Regions from separate parts of the Homo sapiens genome. Here region 1 is linked to region 2. The links are contacts of gene promoters, found by promoter capture Hi-C in blood cells and fetal thymus (Javierre and others, 2016). All regions are on one chromosome and are shown on one strand. The core of a region is centred on a gene start or on the middle of the fragment in contact, and the rest is flanking DNA. Distances in the headings are between cores, read along the strand shown. Region 1 overlaps SMIM7 (small integral membrane protein 7). Region 2 holds the start of CALR3 (calreticulin 3).

What was found. The method cuts DNA at HindIII sites, captures the fragments that hold promoters and counts their contacts. A CHiCAGO score of 5 or more calls a contact.
Region 1: a contact is called between a fragment that was not itself captured here and the fragment with the promoter of CALR3 in region 2, in 5 of 17 cell types (M1 macrophages, M2 macrophages, erythroblasts and 2 more). The highest score is 6.1, in M1 macrophages.

The regions. Positions count from the first base shown.
Region 1 is chr19:16,643,206-16,647,316 of GRCh38, reverse strand. SMIM7 (small integral membrane protein 7) reads left to right here. Exons shown (of 5, transcript NM_024104.4): 5 at 56-1,169. The coding sequence ends at 71. Among named protein-coding and RNA genes, the nearest start is that of SMIM7, 15 kb to the left of the region's middle. The HindIII fragment of the contact is 1,300 bases long and covers 909-2,208 here.
Region 2 is chr19:16,492,973-16,497,473 of GRCh38, reverse strand. It overlaps CALR3 (calreticulin 3), which reads left to right and starts at 1,307. Exons shown (of 9, transcript NM_145046.5): 1 at 1,307-1,435; 2 at 1,622-1,723. The coding sequence starts at 1,345. It overlaps C19orf44 (chromosome 19 open reading frame 44), which reads right to left and starts at 1,080. Exons shown (of 9, transcript NM_032207.4): 1 at 1,009-1,080. RefSeq lists enhancers at 978-1,407, 1,042-1,542, 1,543-2,043. The HindIII fragment of the contact is 8,057 bases long and covers 1-4,069 here.

The sequences.
Region 1 (4,111 bases), core at 309-2,808, 150 kb before region 2:
TTTAGAACAGTCACCTCCTATCCTCACAGACATTTCTGCCCTCTGACTTCTCCAGGCTGTTCGGCTCTTGAATCCCAGCGATGAAACCAGGAACTCACTTTCCCGGGATGCCGAGTCTCCATTCCTCCATTCCTGATGACTTCAAGAATGTTTTTGACCAGAAAACCGACAACCTTCCCAGAAAGTCCAAGCTCGTGGTGGGTGGAAAAGTGTTCGCCGAGGTGTGCATGGTTTCCCAGCCACGTCCCTGTTTTCAAAGATAGTTTCACTTTGGTCTCTGAATTGAAATGCTGTCTACTGAAAGGGTTTCAGGAGCGTTTATGTAAGGGGCTGTGATGAAATTGCATTCCCCATAGATAAAAGAAAAATCATTTCTATCCAGAGATCTGAGCAGAAGGATTGGCTTGTTAGTTTAACACAGCCGTATTTTTGGACATTCAGTGTTACTTGCTGAGTCTGACAGCCTCTGGGCCCGGCCAGGGGCCCTGTTAACAAACTGCTTTCACATCCCAACAGGGTCTGCTTGGCCACTCAGTGCAGCTGCGATTAACCCTAAAGGCTTTAAGGAACGGGCCACCTGTAACAGAGACACCAGCCTTCCTGTATAGACACTAAATTGTTAGCAAGAGTGTTGAGCTAGTTCCTGGTGAAGTGTTTCCACAGAAGACATGTGGAGCAGTTGTGGGGATATTAAGGGAAACTTTCCTCTGCCTTGACCCCTTTGTTAAATAAAATGACTTTGGGAGCCATTCATTGTACAGTTGCAGGAATGAGAGTGATTTTATGATGTGGTACATTGGGACCATGTTCTAAAACCTTGGGTTTCTGAGTCTGCTTTTTGAGTAGGTGATTTTGAGGTTGAAAAACCAGGGGCCTTCATCTAGGAAATACAGCATTTTCCAGAAGCTTCTTTGAAAGGGAATCCTGGTTTTGTTGCCAAAATGAAACGCCCGGGGTTGGCGCTGAATCCCACAACTGTGTGATTTGCTTGTTGAGTTTTTTGTTGTCTGGTTTTTTTGTTTGTTTGTTTATACCAATAAGAATGAGCCTGAATGTTGGTGGTTTTTGAAATCCTGACTTGGAGGTAAACCTGGAGGAAGGAAAAAAAGTAAATATGCAGGCTTTTAGGACTGAGTAGCCTTGAAAATAAACCTCATTTCTAAAAAGGACCTTTTGTTTATACTTTTTTTTTTTTTTTAACCAAGAAGTCAATTTCCAACCTGAGTCCTTTTGAATTTACCCTGCTGGAAAAACCTAGGATTCATTTTGGAGGCCATGAGAAAGAAAAGAGTCAGTGGTAGAGTTTCCTTTTTGGATTTAGCTCAATAAATGATGGTCAAGAATTGGGCAAGTGGGGCTGCGCGCAGTGGCTCATACCTGTAATCCCAGCACTTTGGGAGGCCGAGGTAGGCGGATCACTTGAGGTCAGGAGTTCGAAACTAGCCTGGCCAACATGGTGAAATCGCATCTCTACTAAAAATAGAAAAATTAGCCAGATATGGTGGCACACGCCTATAATCCCAGCTACTCGGGTGGCTGAGGCACAAGAATTGCTTAAATCTGGGAGGCGGAGGTTGCAGTGAGCTGAGATTGAGCCACTGCACTTCAGCCTGGGTGAGACAATGAGATTCTGTCTCAAAAAAAAAAAAAAAAAAAGAATTGAGTAAGTGGAATTTTGACTGGAGCTGCTCCTGAAAGTATTGAAAGAGTCATTGCTAATGGTGGGCTCTTGCTAGACCAGGGTCAAGTCCACTTTTGCTGCCTCTCAGGTTGTGGAATTCTCCTTGATCACTTCTGCAATTCATTTCCTTGCCAAATCTCAGCCAAGCATCACCCCAAGGTCTGTAAGTAGCAGAGATCGGAGCTGCTGGGTCTGGCTTTGCTGAGGCCGGTGTCGCTGTCAGAACAGGCACGCCAAGATCTTGGCTGGGTCCCTCACAGGCCAGATGAATGGTGTGAAGAAACCTTCCTGCCTTATTCAGACTGGCGCGGAGGTCTCAATGAGGCGAGGCATTTGTCCATTATGGGGATGAATCGTGCTCTCAGAAGAGAATCCTGTCATTGAGGTTTTGTTTCAATAGTCCTCTTTTTCTCCAGAGAACTGTTGTCTCATTGTTAATAATAGCAGCGTGGCTTTTTCAGATGCTGGTTGGTGGCTGCTGTACATTTTAAAAATGGAATCTCATGGTTGTGTCTCTTAAGGAAGCTTTTCAAGAACTTTACTGGCACCAGAGGTTATCAGAGTTTGAAGTTTGGGTGCCTAGTGTCTCACAGTGTTTAAGCACTAATGTTCTGGGTCAGTTAGGTGTGAGTACAAATCCCATCTCAGCTCATTCTGAGAGGGACCTTGGCTAATTGCTTTCTCCTCTCCAAGCCTCAGTTTCCACATCTCTAAAATCGGCCTGCAAGTAGTGTGTGCCTAAGGTTGTTGTAAGTTTCAATGAACTCGAATGCGGCTGAGTGCCTGAGAGCACCTGTTGCTGTGGGTATCATCACCGTGTGTGTTTTCTGTCTTCTCATCCACTTTTCTTTGTGCAGTCTGCACACACACCATTAAAGGCTGATGACAGCATTTTTACGAATTGCAAACAGAGGCCAGCGCGGTGGCTCCCAGCACTTTGGGAGGCCGAGGCAGGTGGATCACGAGGTCAGGAGTTCAAGAACAGCCTGGCCAAGATGGTGAAACCCCGTCTCTACTAAAAATGCAAAAATTAGCTGGGTGTGGTGGCATGCCCCCTGTAATCCCAGCTACTCAGGAGGCTGAGGCAGAGAATTGCTTAAAAACCCAGGAGGTGGAGGTTGCAGTGAGCTGAGATCGTGCCAGTGCACTCCAGCCTGGGTGACAGAGCAAGATCTTCTGTCTCGGAAAAAAAAAAAAAAGTTACAAACAGACTGAGTGCAGTGAGAGGCTCACACCCTGCAATCCCAGCATTTTGGGAGGCCAAAGTGGGCAGGTCACCTGTGGTCAGGAGTTCGAGACCAACCTGGCCAACATGACAAAACCCCGTCTCTACTAAAAAATACAAAAATTAGCCAGGTGTGGTGGCGTGCGCCTGTAATCCCAGCTACTCAGGAGGCTGAGGCAGGATAATCACTTGAACCAGGGAGGCGGAGGTTGCAGCGAGCCGAGATCGCGCCATTGCACTCCAGCCTAGGCGACGAGCAAAACATCTCAAAAAAAAAAAAAAAAAAAAAAAACGCAAACAATTTCCAGCCTGGTAAACCTTTTCCTGTCTTCACCATCCCCATGCAGCATTTTCCATATTCCTGTATGTATGTTTTGAGAGTGGATAAGGAAGGATGAGTTCTGCTGTGTTCATTTCAGCATCATTTTCTTTACACTTGCTTTGTTGCTAGGAGGTGTTACAGTTCTCATTTTTACTTACGGTGCAGTGTCAGTAAATAGGTCCTTAGCCACCTTGTTGCTGGACTTGGATTATATTTTGTCCACTGTGATCAGGGCTGCCCCTGGCACCAGTGTTGTGATCTTCATTGGCTTCTATTGTGGCATTAGCTTCCTTGGGCAGATAACCATGGAGGGGTCCATAATATCCTTAAATACCATTGGTGTGGCTTTAAGTGGCTTTTGTTTGTTTTACTTTGCTTGAAAAAATTTTTTAGGCCTGGTACGGTGGCTCATGCCTGTAATCCCAGCACTTTAGGAGGCTGAGGTGGGTAGATCACTTGAGGCCAGGAGTTCAATACCAGCCTGGCCAATATGGTGAAACCCTATCTCTACTAAACATACATATATTAGCTGGGCATAGTGGCACATGCCTGTAGTCCCAGCTACTCAGGAGACTGAGGTAGAGGAATCACTTGAACTCGGGAGGCGGAGGTTACAGTGAGCCGAGTGGTGCACTTCAGCCTGAGTGACACAGTGAGACCCCTGTCTCAAAAAAGAAAAATTTTTTTTAAACTACTAATGCATATTCATTGAAGAAACTTATCAAATGCATACTTGCTAGAAGAGGAAAAATAAATCACCCATAGTCACATTCTCCGGAGACCATCACCCTAGGTACATATTCTTCCAACCTTTCTTCTGTGCATAATCATCTAGGTGTGGTGCTTACATTTTCTTTTGGCAGTGTTATCTTAGTATCTTCCA
Region 2 (4,501 bases), core at 58-2,557:
GACGCTGAGACAGGAGAATTGCTTGAACCTGGGAGGCGGAGTTCGCAGTGAGCCGAGATCGCACCATTGCACTTCAGCCTAAGTAACAGAGCGAGAATCTGTCTCAAAAAAAAAAAAAAAAGGAAAGAAAAAAGAAAGTAGCCAGACACTAAACTCCACACACCCTATCATTTCATTTGTAAGAACTGTCAAGAAAAGGCAAACCAATAAACTCAGAAAGCAGATCGGGCCGGTGCTGTGACTCACGCCTATAATCCCAGCACTTTGGGAGGCCAAGGCTGGCAGATTACGTGAGGTCAGGAGTTCGAGACCAGCGTGGCAAACATGGTGAAACCCCATCTCTACTAAAAATACAAAAAATTAGCCGGAGTGCAGTGGCATGATCACAGCTCACAGCAGCCCTTGACCTCCTGGACACAAGCAATCCTCCCTCCTGCCTCAACATCCTGAGTAGCTGGGACTACAGGCGCGTGCCACTACACCTGGCTAATTTTTTATTTTTATCTTTTTTAGAGATGGGGTCTCGCCAGGTTGCCCAGGCTGGTCTGGATCTCCTGGCCTCAAGTGATCCTCCCGCCTCTGCCTCCCAAAGTGCTGGGATTCCAGGCGTGAATCACCGCGCCCGGCCTGACGCAAAGTTCTAAAGCTGGATGAGCTGGATGGTGGCGACGGCTTCACAACTTTGTAGATTTACTAAAAATAACGGAGTCGTCAGCTTAAAAGTGGCGAACACTATGGTATGTAAATGAAGGCTCAATAAAGTTGTTACAAATCAACAAACCAAAACTTGAAAACCCTGGCGCCCCTGAGACCATCCTGCTCTTCTCCCCAGCTATGAAGCGACCCGCGCAGGACCATGCTCCAATAGACCCCAGACAGGGAAACTGAGGCGCGGGACCATCCTGCAGCGGCCCAACCAGCTCAGCCCCGGAGAAGGCCCCATTTCCCCGTATCCCCCTCGCGAGCCCGGACGCCCAGCTAGGTCACCTCCCCACCAGCCCTGCCGACCTCTTCCCACGCCGTCCATTCGCAGAGGCAGCCGCCACATTCACGCCTGAAGGAGCGGTTGCCCTGGGCAACAGAGCCAGAGCAGAAGAGACTACATCTCCCGGGAAGCACCGCGCCCCGCAGACCAATGGCGCCCCGAATCACAATCGCGGGGTGTCATGGGAGCGGTAGTTCCGGGGCGGGCCCAACGTGCCCCGCGCCGCAGCGACCAATGGGACCCTCAGGTCATAATCGCGAGTTGTGACGGGAGTTGTAGTTTCGGGACGCGCCTGAAGAGCCGCAGAGAGAGCTGGGAGCTAAGGGGTGGCGGCGACCGGAAGCGCAGTGCACACCCCCATGGCCCGGGCTTTGGTCCAGCTCTGGGCCATATGCATGCTGCGAGTGGCGCTGGCTACCGTCTATTTCCAAGAGGAATTTCTAGACGGAGGTGAAGGGGCCACGCCCGTGGTGGCGGAGGTGTAAGCTCCCCCATCTCCGCCCCCTAAGGCTGGCCAGAGTCGCCACGGGGTCCACGGCAGCGAACCCTCGAATCCTCGAGGGTCCCCTTCACCCTTCCCTTAGCCCAAATTAACCATTATCACCTCTAACCGGTGTTATTTCCCCTTCCCCACAGAGCATTGGAGAAACCGATGGTTGCAGTCCACCAATGACTCCCGATTTGGGCATTTTAGACTTTCGTCGGGCAAGTTTTATGGTCATAAAGAGAAAGATAAAGGTTAGTGTAGAATCAGGACCAAATTGAGCCTAATGTTACATTTCCATAGCAACCTCTCTAGGTAGTTGTGGCACAGCCAAAACGCTTTTATTCCCGTTTTACAGATGAAGACATTAAGGCAAAGGTAGAACTTAAGGGGCTCCTTTCCTTGTTTTTTTGTTTCTTCTCTCCTTTTTTTTTTTTTTTTTTTTTGAGACGGAGCCTTGCTCTGTTGCCCAGGCTGGAGTGCAGTGGCGCGATTTCGGCTCACTGCAACTTCCACCTCCCGGGTTCAAGCAATTCTCCTGCCTCAGCCTCCCGAGTAGCTGAGACTACAGGCGCGCGCCACCATGACCGGCTAATTTTTGTACTTTTAGTAGAGACAGGGTCCACGTTGGCCAGGCTGGTCTCGAACTCCTGACCTCATGATCCACCCACCTTGGCCTCCCAAAGTGCTGGGATTACAGGCATGAGCCACAACATCCAGCCTCCTCTCTCCTTTCTTTATTGCCAAAGATTCCTTTTTTTTTTTTTTTTTTTTTTTGGTAGTAGGAGTCTCGCTCTGTCGCCTAGGCTAGAGTGCAGTGGCACGATCTTGGCTCACTCAAACCTCCGTCTCCCGGGTTCAAGTGATTCTCTTGCTTCAGGCTTCTGAGGAGCTGCGATTACAAGCGTGCGCCACCATGCCCTGCTAATTTTTTTAGAGACAGAGTTTCACCACATTGCCCAGGCTGGACTCAAACTCCTGGCCTTAAGTAATCCACCTGCCTCGGCCTCCTAAAGTGCTGGGATTATAGGCGTGAGCCATGGTGCTTGGCCTATTATCATTATTATTACTTTTATTGGTATTAGGTCCCCTGAAGTCCAAGGAGACATATTCAGCTTATTTGGTATAATAAAATCATACTTGAAGCACTGTCAAATATGCAATGGTATTTAACCTTCTTTGGATTATATTTATATGAATGTGTTATTAGTAGGCATTACCAAAATTGCCCCTCTTAATAGACACTAGTCAAGTGCATTTGAGGATCAAGGGCCATGCCCCTCAGAAGGAAAAGGTTAGTGGGTACTTTTTCTCATTTTAATTTTCGTATTAAAAAGAAAAATAGGCCAGGCGCGGTGGCTCATGCCTGTAATCCCAGCACTTTGGGAGGCCTTAGGCGAGCGGATCATGAGGTCAGGAGTTCAAAACCAGTCTGGCCAATACGGTGACACCCTGTCTCTACTAAAAATACAAAAATTAGCTGGGTGTGGTGGCTCATGCCTGTAGTCCCAGCTACTCGGGAGGCTGAGGCAGAAGAATCACTTGAACCCGGGAGGCAGAGGTTGCAGTGAGCAGAGATCATGCCCCTGCACTCCAGCCTCAGTGACAGAGTGAGACTCCATCTCAAAAAAAAAGAAAAATATGGTCAGGCACGGTGGCTCACGCCTGTAATCCCAGCATGTTGGGAGGCCAAGGCAGGCGGATTACTTGAAGTCAGGAGTTTGAGACCAGCCTGGTCACCATGGTGAAACCCTGTCTCCACAAAAATACAAAAAAGTTAGCCAAGTGTGGTGGCGCACAACTATAATCCCAGCTAATTGGGAGGCTGAGGCAGAAGAATCGTTTGTACCCAGGAGGCAGAGGTTGCAGTGAACTGAGATTGTACCACTGCACTCCAGCCTGGGTGACAGAATGAGACTCCATTTCAAAAAATAAAAGAAAAAAATACAGAGATAAACATTACATCTTGTCGCCTGCACATTCTTCAGGGTACAACACAATGAGCTTTTACTTTTGTACAGGCAGGTCAAGATAAGGCAAGCGAATCACTTGAGGTTGAGACCAGCCCGGCCAACATGGCGAAACTCCGTCTCTATTAAAAATACAAAAATTAGCTGGGCATGGTGGCACACATCTATAATCTCACCTACTTCAGAGGCTGAGGCAGGAGAATCACTTGAACCCAGGAGGCGGAGGTTGCAGGGAGCCAAGATCATGCCACTGCACTCCAGCCTGGATAACCGAGCAAGACTCTGTCTCAAGAAAAAAAATATATATATATACAAATATTAGCCGAGCATGGTGGCATAGGCCTGTAGTCCCAGCTACTTGAGAGATTGAGGCAGGAGAATCACATGAACCCGAGAGGCGGAGGTTGCAGTGAGTCGAGATCGTGCCACTACACTCCAGCCTGGGCAACAGAGCAAGACTCTGTCTCAAAAAAAAAAAAAAAAAAAAAAAAATTCTAGCTTCAAGAGAGCTAATTCAAGCTCAAAGTTTAAGGACAACTGTGTGGAAAACACAGATCCCAAAGAATAGAAGTCAGTGTTCTGAAGTGTAGAAGTTTGGGATCATTTGTATAGACAAAGTTTAGAGAAGCTTAACAGAATTTCAGCATCTTTCTAGGCAAGGCTTGATAGATAATGACCATGATCCCATTAGTCAAGGTGGTCTTTTTCTTTTGAGAAGGTATATTTAACATTTCACCCTGAAGATGTAACAGTCACGGCATCTTTTGTGCCATCTGGTCTGAGTTAGGTACAGGTCAGTCCTGGAGGCAGTTAATCTGTAACTAAGGTCAGTGGTCACAAATAGAGGAGGCCTGGTCTCTGGTTTGTCCTAGTCATTTGCCAAACAAGAACAATGAGGAAGAAGGTTTATCTATGATTTAAGAAGCAGAGGTTACACCTGCATGCTGCATGACTCAGATCACACAACTTGCTCAAGGTTTTTATTTATTTTATGTATTTATTTGAGAGAGAGTTTCACCCTTGTTACCCAGGCTGGAGTGCAATGGCGTGATCTCTGCTCAC